Regions from separate parts of the Homo sapiens genome. Here region 1 is linked to region 2. The links are contacts of gene promoters, found by promoter capture Hi-C in blood cells and fetal thymus (Javierre and others, 2016). All regions are on one chromosome and are shown on one strand. Each heading gives the region's core, a stretch centred on a gene start or on the middle of the fragment in contact. The rest is flanking DNA. Distances are from core to core; before and after follow the strand shown. Region 1 holds the start of NEIL3 (nei like DNA glycosylase 3). Region 2 holds the start of SPATA4 (spermatogenesis associated 4).

Region 1 (4,501 bases), core at 1,320-3,819, 1.1 Mb before region 2:
AAGATTGCACTTTTCTATTTAATAAATAACCACTACTATATACTGAGCATTATGGTGTTCTTACCGTTGTATGCTAAAAAAGCAATAAAGATCCTACTGAATCTTTTATGGCTGAGAGGAGCTATGGCATGGTTAAGAGGGTAGGCTTTGGAGTTTTAAAGAAAAATCAAACCCTGGTTTAGCCCCTTACTAGACATGTGATCTTGGGCAAATTTACTTAAAGTCACTCTGAGCCTCATATGCCTCATCTGTAGAATCAGGTTAATCCTTTATCATAGGGTTATCCTTTTTCATGACTGAATGAAATGTAAAAGCATCTCATGCCATACCATCAGAGATAATCACAACAAAACTTAAAAGGAAATGTTTAAGCTATTTTTCCTAAATACCAATGAGGTGATATTTATTTAAAACATTAGGTTGGACTCTCACAGCAGAAAGCATATCCTACTCATCTTCGTATCCGCAGGAGCTAGCATAAAACCTAACACAAAATACGTTGTGGTTGAATGATGTAAATGATGATATCCCTAAGTATATTCATGTCATATCCATTGCTTAGCCCTCCCATCATAGTGATTCTCTTGTCTTCATCTCCACCACCAGCACTTGACCCCAAATTTGTCACCTGGATTTCTGCAGTCGACTCCTAAATGAGAGGGCAGTGTCTACTCTGGCTTTCTTTCAGTCTTTTTCCTGTTCCAATCCCTGAGCTGCATGGCTTCTACTCACCCTGCACACCTCAGCTTTTTTTTTTTTTTTTTTTTTGAGACAGAGTTTCGCTCTTGTTGCCCAGGCTGGGGTGCAATAACGCGACCTCAGCTCACTGCAACCTCCACCTCCTGGATTCAAGCGATTCTCCTGCCTCAGCCTCCTGAGTAGCTGGGATTACAGGCATGCACCAGCATGCCTGACTAATTTTTTATTTTTGTAGGGATGGAATTTCTCCATATTGGTCAGGCTGGTGTTGAACTCCCAACCTCAGGCGATCTGCCCACCTCAGCATCCCAAAGTGCTGGGATTACAGGCATGAGCCACTGCACCCGGCCCACACCTCAGCTTTGCTACTTCCCTGGGGAAGCCTTCCCAGGTCTTCCTACAAGTCCTTAAAGAATCGTGTATCTCTCCTTCACAGAACTTATTAATTTATATTTCTTTAGGTGATTATTTAATGAATGTCTTTGTGTCTTCCCAACTGAAGTATAGGCTCCAAAAGAGGAAGTATTTGTTTTTGCTCCCCAGGTGTCTTGAGTATTCAAAATTTTATTGAATGAGTAATTTTCATAAATATTAATATTCTTAAGAAACCATCTAAAATCCATCTCTGTGGTACCCTGAAACGATTTTAGAAACACTATAACAATAATAAAAAAAAATAGGTACAGAGTACTTACTGGCATATCAAGTCAAAATAAACAAAAGGGCAATTGGAAGGAGATGTAAAACTTATTTTTTCCCAAGTTTGAAAATATATTTTCTTAGACTTAGAACCTCATTTCTTTCAAGTTGTAAGCATATGCTAATTTCATAGCAGGCAACTTTTTCTTCCAGGACCAAAGGCTATAAGAAGCTTTGCAGAAGAAATTGAAATACAGTGCAATATTGCATGTAGGCATGAAATACAATCATCCATACATCTAGAGGGCTTTTAAAACATGATGCCTTAATCAGAATATTTTTAGTACAAGTTCTGGCCAAATGAATACCACATCGTCTGCAATGAATGCCTGAGTGGCAAGAAGCTGTGCTAGTTTACTTTAAAAAGAAATAAATTCACTTAAGGGAACCAGAACTGGGTTTCATTGCCCCTTAATTAGATGGCAATATGAAGTTGAGTGAGAAGTTAGTGCTAAATTTTCTACGTGTAGTTTTAGAATTATATACTAGTTGTGATATACTTACCAATTGCAGATTAGCCAAGCAAGAAAGTAGAATTTTATGCTAAAAGCTTAAAATGGGACGAAGAAAACATATCAGAGGTAGCAGAGATTTGATAATATCAATAGTAAAAAATGCAGCTGTAGACATGGGAAACCATGTGTGTATCATAAAGAAGTTAAGTAAGGTGACTCGGATAAAACACCTTCACTGGATTCCCCTAGGGCATCTTGCTCCGGCAGCGTGAGCCCAGAACGCTAGCCCTCCTCTCCTGCGCAGGCGCGCTAGGACCGACTTCTCCCTACAGTAAAGTGACGATAAACTCTGTGAAAGGTGGGACCCCAGGAAACCTGGGCCAGAGCAAAGAGATGACACTTTAAATCCTGGAACCCTGATGGGGTCTTTATTCCATTTCCCCCCTGCTGACTGCATGGCCTGTTACAGGAGTAGCTCACCTGCGGGGAGACCACAACCGTGGAGGCTGCGAGCCGCAAGGCGCGGCCCTGCAGACTCCGCAGAGCGCTTCCCCGCACGCCGGTCACCGCCTGGCCCGGGAGCACCCGCGCGCGAATCTTCTCTCCATTCAGAGTACAGCCTGGTCCTTCCACCATCTCTGTGGCCGGCACTGTGGCCCACCGATTGCAGGGCCTGGTGAGAATACCGCTGTGCAACTCAACGCTGCGCGGGCACTGACCGCACGCAGAGGAAATTCAAATCTCGCGCGCGTCTGGCCCCGCCCAGGCCCCGCCCAAACAGCACCCTAGCTGTTGAGGTCGCTCCCTACGGCGCATGCGCTGTGGTTCACCCCCGCCCTAGGTCTTGCTGTGGGTTTATTAAGAAAACGCAAACGCGCGTGGGGCGGGGGGCGTGGAGGACAACTAACTAGGCTGAACTGTAAAAGCAGAAGAAATTGGGACTTGGAAAGCTCTGAATGTATTTTCTTTGCGTTAAAGTTTTGCCCTTGTCTTTGAGCTACTTAGTATACACACATTTTCTGATCTGGTCCTCTTAATCTGTCCTTGTCTGTGACAGGACAGATATGTCACAGACAATCTTGTTTTTGGCTCTGTTTTTGGCATGCTATATTCGGACGTGGGTGGGATAAGAGAAACGAAGAAGAGGGTTTTTGGAACAAACAGCAGAATATATTCTAGTGTCTATATTTAAAAACTCCATTATTAGATAGTTAAGTGAGCCCTACCTAAGTGCATGCATCCATTTTGTAAGGGGACGCCCCAAGATGAAAGCTATATGAAATTGCTTTGTTAAACGTAGAGGTTTATATAAATTTGAGGGTAATGCGTAGCTTTTCAAATTTACCCACAACCCTAACCAAAGATGCATGCATACATATAAATCTATGAAGTTTATGACTCCATATAGTTTTGTAAATTATAAAGTGTATTCTTTTTTGAAAACTGAAATACTACACATTAAAACAGAATGTCAATTTCTAAGTGATTTCATAAGCATAGCACTGTGCTGCCGTTAAACCACAAGAGCATATACACAGGTGGTTGCTGACTTAGGATGCCCCAGCGTAACAGTGTTTTGACTGTATGATGGTGCAAAAGTGACACACAGTAGAAACTGTACTTTGAGTACTCATATAGCCATTCTGTTTTTCATTTTCAGTACAGTAGTCAATAAATTATTCAACACTTTATTATAAAATATGCTTTGTGTTAGGTGATTTTTCCCAACTGTAGGCTAATGTAAGTGTTCTGAACACATTTAAGGAGGGCCTCGTGAAGCTATGATGTTTGGTAGGTTAGATATATTAAAGGCATTTTCGACTTACTGTATTTTCAGTTTACAACGGGTTTATCAGGACATAACCCCATCGTAAGTTGAGGAGCATCTGTATACTAGAGAGTTGAATTTGAATATACTGAAGACTTGATTGAAATTTTGAAAAGTATTAAATCTTTCCTTTGCAGGGAGAGATTAGTGATCAAAAGTTGGCTGGATCAATTTCAGGACTATTTGTACTTTACTCCCTTGTTCAATTCAATAATCTCTGTCCTTTGATGGAGAAAAGTCCTATATACCTTCTCCTCTTTCAGCGTTGTACTAGTTATTTATTGTTACCTCATCAATTATCCCATTTGTTATTTCAAAGTTTCTGTGGGTCAGGAATTTGGCAATAGTCTAGCTAGCCAGAGTCATCCTGGCTCAGCATTTCTCAAGAGGTTACAGTTAAAATATTAGCCAAGGCTAAAGTGCCCCAAAGGCTTTTTGTAGCTAAAAGATCCACTTCCGAGATGAGTCACTTGCATGGCTGTTGGCAGGAGGCCTCAGTTTCTCACCTCTTGTGTCTCTATAGTGCAGCTCGGCTCTTCTAATGACATGGCAGCTGAGAGTGTGATCCAAGAGAGAAGTCAAGGAGAAAGCTGCAATGCCCTTTATTACTTAGTCACCCTTTATTACTTAGTTTACTATGGTAACTTACTTCTTATTCCATTCATTAGAAGCCAGTCATTAAATACAGTGCATTCACAAGGGGAGGGGAATTAAGCTGTGATTTGAAAGGAGGGATATCAAAGAGCTTGTGGACAAATTTAAAAAATATCAACCTGTTCATTTATCTGATTCACCTCATTTCTCTTTAAGGTGTTGTGTA
Region 2 (4,827 bases), core at 1,915-4,414:
ACCAATTGCCCCGGCCAGGTGAAGCTTTGTTGCCATGGTTACACAGGGGCTTGAACAGCAAGCAGAGAAATAGCAAATCCCTGCTCCCCACCTCCTGGCCACTCTCTCACTCCCCATATTGGCAGAATTTACCATCCACCCAGCAAAGGAGAAAATGCCGCAGCGTTCCAACTCCGGCATCACAGAACTGAGAACAGAGAAGGGAGTGTTTCTAACAGGGATGTATTTGCTTAACAATTGGCACACTGATTACAGGAAGATTTCCAACTCTTTAGCAAAACTGTTTACAATTAAGCCCCAATCTAGCTGGGCGTGGTGGCTCATGCCTGTAATTGCTGCACTTTGGAAGGCCAAGGCTGGAGGATTGATTCCTCAAGCCCACAAGTTCAAGACCCGTCTTTATAAAAAATTTAAAAACTGACCAATCATTGTGGTTTGCACCTGTAGTCCCAGCTACTTGGGAGGCTGAGATGAGAGGCTGGGGTGGGAGGTTCACTTGAGTCCAGGAGGTCAAGGCTGCAGTGAGCCCTGAGCACGCCACCGCACTCCAGCCTGCGCAACAGCATGACTCTGTCTCAAAAACAAAAACAAATAAACCCTAACCTATAGATCTAACCTACCTCTCTAGCCATTATCATCTAAACCTTTGGTTGACAATGTCTCTTTGGTTGATAATGCCTAAACACTTTCTCTAACCCTAATGGGTTCTGTTCTTTCCTAAAACTCATTTAAAAAACCCCTCATATTTCTATGCAATTGCTCCCATTAGTCACTCTGTGTGAGATTGCCCCTTCATCATCCAAATAAATTTCCAAGATCACCTTTGAAGCAATCATCTATGCTTACTGAGCACTACGTGCTGCACATTGTTTTAGGCTCTTTATAGATTTCACTTATTTAATCTCTACAGCTCTGTGGTGTATCCTATTTATTTCCATATTTTACAAATACAAATGTTAAATAACTTGCCCAAAGTCATATAGCTAATAAAAGGTAGTGTGAACCCAGAAACTCTGAGACAGGTCTCAGTTAATTTAGAAAGTTTATTTTGCCAAGGTTGAGGATGAGCACCCGTGACACAGCCTTAGGAGGTCCTGACATGTGCCCAAGGTGGTCAGGGCAGTTTGGTTTTATACATTTTAGGGAGACATGAGACTTCAGTCGACATGTGGAAGATGAACATTGATTTGGTCTGGAAAAGGTGGGACAACTAGAAGCAAAGGCAGGACAACTCAAGCAGGGAGGGGGCTTCCAGGTCATAGGTAGATGGGAGACAAATGGTTGCATTCTGTTGAGTTTCTGATGAGCCTTTCCAGAGTAGGCAATCAGGTATGCATTTAGCTCAGTGAGCTAAGCGGTGACTTTGAATAGAATAGGAGGCAGGTTTGCCCTAAGCAGTTCCCACTTTGACTTTTCCCTTTAGCTTAGTGATTTGGGGGAGGTGGGGGGGGTCCCAAGATTTAATTTCCTTTCACAGTAGAAATGGCTATTCAAAGCTTTCATCTTAAAAATCAGCTTAAAATACCACCTTCTAAGATCCAAATTAATGGTCATCTCTTTTGAGAGGACTTCTTACACTCTCCCAGGCCAAAGTATTTGCTTCCTTTCTGGTGCTAACATATTTTTACCATGGCAGAGCTTTTCAGTGTATGTAATCTTTTCACTGATATTTCTATCTCTGAATCTCTTATAAATGATCTGCCGCACAGAGCTGTCCAATCGAAATTCCTGTAGTGATGGAACAGTGCTGTGTCTGTCCTACCCAACATGGCAGCCACTAGCTACATATGGCTATTGAGCAGGTAAAATGTAGCCAGTGGAACTGAGTTTATTTAAATTTAAGTTTAAATAGCCACATGTGGCTAGTGGCTACCATATTGGATGGTAAAGATCTAGCACATACTCCAGGATAGTTCCTCAGAAAAGGTTTACAGAATGAATGAATCATTCATTAAAACTTTTTTAGCCTAACAGAAAACACTTACATAGCTTCAGTTTTGGTTTTCTTTTTTAACCACATACAGAATACACTGGTTTACTTTATTAATAAGCATGTATATGAATAAACATTAAAAATATTACATAGTATCATTATCAAGATCTATCCCATATTTTACCATGTGTATGTATCCACAGGGCCTGTCACCTGGCTCTCTGCAGCCTCAAGTTCCTGAGCTCAAGCAATCCTCCCACCTCAGCATCTGGAGTACTTGAGAGTACAGGTGTGCACCACCACACCCAGCTATTTTGTTTGTTTGTTTGTTTTGTAGCGAAAGTCTCTCCACCTTGTGTTGCCCAGGCTGGTCTTGAACTCCTGAGCTCAAACGATCCTCCCGCCTCCACCACCCAAAGTGCTGGGATTACAGGCATGACCCACTGTGCCCTGCCAAGCAAAAAAAAACAAAAAACAAAAAACAAAAAACAAAAAACTGTGGCTGTAAAAATTTTTAATGGATTTTAATAATTAAGCTTACATATTTATAATTGCCTATGCCAACTTTGCAGTTGTTTTCATTGTGTTCAGATAGATCCCAAGTGACTAGATGAATGCGTGGCACATAATATGGACTCAATACATATTTGTTGAATTAATGAAGGAATTATGCCTACTAGGAGATTTTAATTAAGTGTGAAAATCTAACCTACACATCGTTTTCAAATATTAATGTTTACAAATACTTAATGCAATAATTAAGGAAATAGTTATGTTAAATTTTGTGGACATTCATTTCCATTTCAAAGATTTTTTTCCCCCATCTCTTCCAATTCCCAAACAAAAACTGTCCTTGGCCTCTGGAGTCTTCTCACACCACTCCTCAAACTAGACGACTGAAAATAGGCCTTTGGCTGGGCAGAAACCAACAATATTTAAAATACAAAACTTATGAACGATGACATAAGAAAAAAAAAGCTCTAAATAGGTTAACAGTGAGGCCAACTAAATCTGAGACTGAAAGCGCTCCCCAGACCGCAGCCACACCACTGGGACCCCAGCTTTGCCTCCCTCGATACCCGGCCCCGCGGTCCAAAATCTGAGTAAAGCGGAAGTACGGGCGGCTGCTGCGGCGCTTGCGCAGGCGCTGAGGTCTCGCCCCATAAGACTCCGCCCCGCCCCACGAGACCGCGCCGCCAGCAATAAGGCCCAGCCCCGCCTTCTGCTGTTGCCGCAGCAACCCAGAAAGCGTCATGGCTGCCGCCGGCCAGGAAAAAGGGTATTTGACACAGACTGCGGCAGCCCTAGACAAGTCACCGTCACTTTCGCCACAGCTAGCAGCTCCCATCCGAGGGAGGCCTAAGAAGTGTCTGGTCTATCCGCATGCGCCGAAGAGCTCCCGCTTGTCTCGTTCCGTTCTGCGTTGGCTTCAGGGTCTGGATCTCAGCTTCTTCCCCAGGAACATCAACAGGTGCTTGAGTAAGCCAGTCCTAGGCCCCCCCGGTGGGCGCCCCGCCTGCTTTCCGCCGCCTGCCAGGCCTCAGATTGCCTACCCTGGCCTGGCTTATGTTTCAAATCAAGACCCCCCCACCCACGTACACACACGAAAACACTATTAGGGAACAAGGCTTTAACAAAATACCACGATACATCTTGTTTATTCAATTAATCAACCAATCATTAAATTGTGGACAATATAGAATGCTTTGGTGACTACAAAAATATTAAAATAGTCAAAGCTTTTTCTTTAGTGATATTGGGCATTAATACTGGTAAGGACGGCCGGGCACAGTTGCTCATGCCTGTAATCCCAGCATTTTGGGAGCCGAGGCAGGCGGATCACCTGAGGTCAGGAGTTGAGTAACAGCCTGACCAACACGGTGAAACCCCGTCTCTACTAAAAAATACAAAAAATTAGCCCAGTGTGGTGGCGGGTGCCTGTAATCCCAGCTACTGGGGAGGCTGCAGGCAGGAGAATGCTTGAACCCGGGAGGCGGAGGTTGCTGTGAGTCGAGATTATGCCGCTGCACTCCAGCCTAGGTGGCAGGGTAAGACTCTGTCTCAAAAAAAAAAAAAAAAAAAAAAAAAAAAAATACTGGTAAGGATCAGTTTACCCTTTGTCGGAGATGGCATCTAGTTTGAGAGTTACCAACAAGTTTTTAAAGTTGCTGCTTAATTGTAGGCACTTTGTATGTAACTGGCAGCTAATATTTGCTCTGGGAATGCAAACTAAATTCTATAAAAAGGCAATGAATCTTTTGCAGAACTCTGGTTTAAAGTAGTCTCTCCTTATCAGAGAGGCATAGGTTCCAAGATCCCCAGTGGATGGCAACTGTGGATACTACAGAACCCTCTGTCAGAACACATTTCTGTTTATGTCTTCCATCCACAAATTTAATGCCTTTTTAAAAATCTTAACTAAGCACTTATCACACACTGTGGCTGAAAGTTTTTCAGTTTGAGGTGTGATGCCGAAACTATCAAGAATTTCTTTTTCTTCATATTTCAGGAATATGATTCATTCCTACCATTGTAACCATTCTTACAACTTTCTATTAAGTCAAGAACTTTCATCTTTTCACCTAAAGGAATAATTTTATGGTTTCTCTCTGGCATATCTGAATCACCAGCATCACTGCTCTTGCACTTTGCACACAAGCGCACCACACTGTACAGTTGATCTGATGACTAAAAGGTGACTGATGTCTACAACGTGGAGACTCTGGACAAAGGGAGGACTCACATCCTAGGCAACACAGAGCAGGCAGGGAGGTTTCATCAGACTGCCCAGAACAGAGTACAATTTAAAAGTTACAAATTATTTCTTGAATTTTCCATTTAATATTTTCCGACTGTGATTGACCCAAGGTAACTGAAACTGCAGAAAGCAAAAC

The links. Contacts are between HindIII fragments. The CHiCAGO score rates a contact against its expected background, and 5 or more counts as called.
Region 1: the fragment with the promoter of NEIL3 here is called in contact with the fragment with the promoter of SPATA4 in region 2 in 8 of 17 cell types (non-activated CD4 T cells, naive CD8 T cells, naive CD4 T cells and 5 more); the score reaches 15.2 in non-activated CD4 T cells.

The regions. Positions count from the first base shown.
Region 1 is chr4:177,307,942-177,312,442 of GRCh38, reverse strand. NEIL3 (nei like DNA glycosylase 3) reads right to left here and starts at 2,569. Exons shown (of 10, transcript NM_018248.3): 1 at 2,334-2,569. The coding sequence starts at 2,489. RefSeq lists an enhancer at 2,399-2,488 and a silencer at 2,569-2,688. The HindIII fragment of the contact is 15,817 bases long and covers 1,951-4,501 here.
Region 2 is chr4:176,193,922-176,198,748 of GRCh38, reverse strand. SPATA4 (spermatogenesis associated 4) reads left to right here and starts at 3,164. Exons shown (of 6, transcript NM_144644.4): 1 at 3,164-3,404. The coding sequence starts at 3,187. The HindIII fragment of the contact is 1,203 bases long and covers 2,472-3,674 here.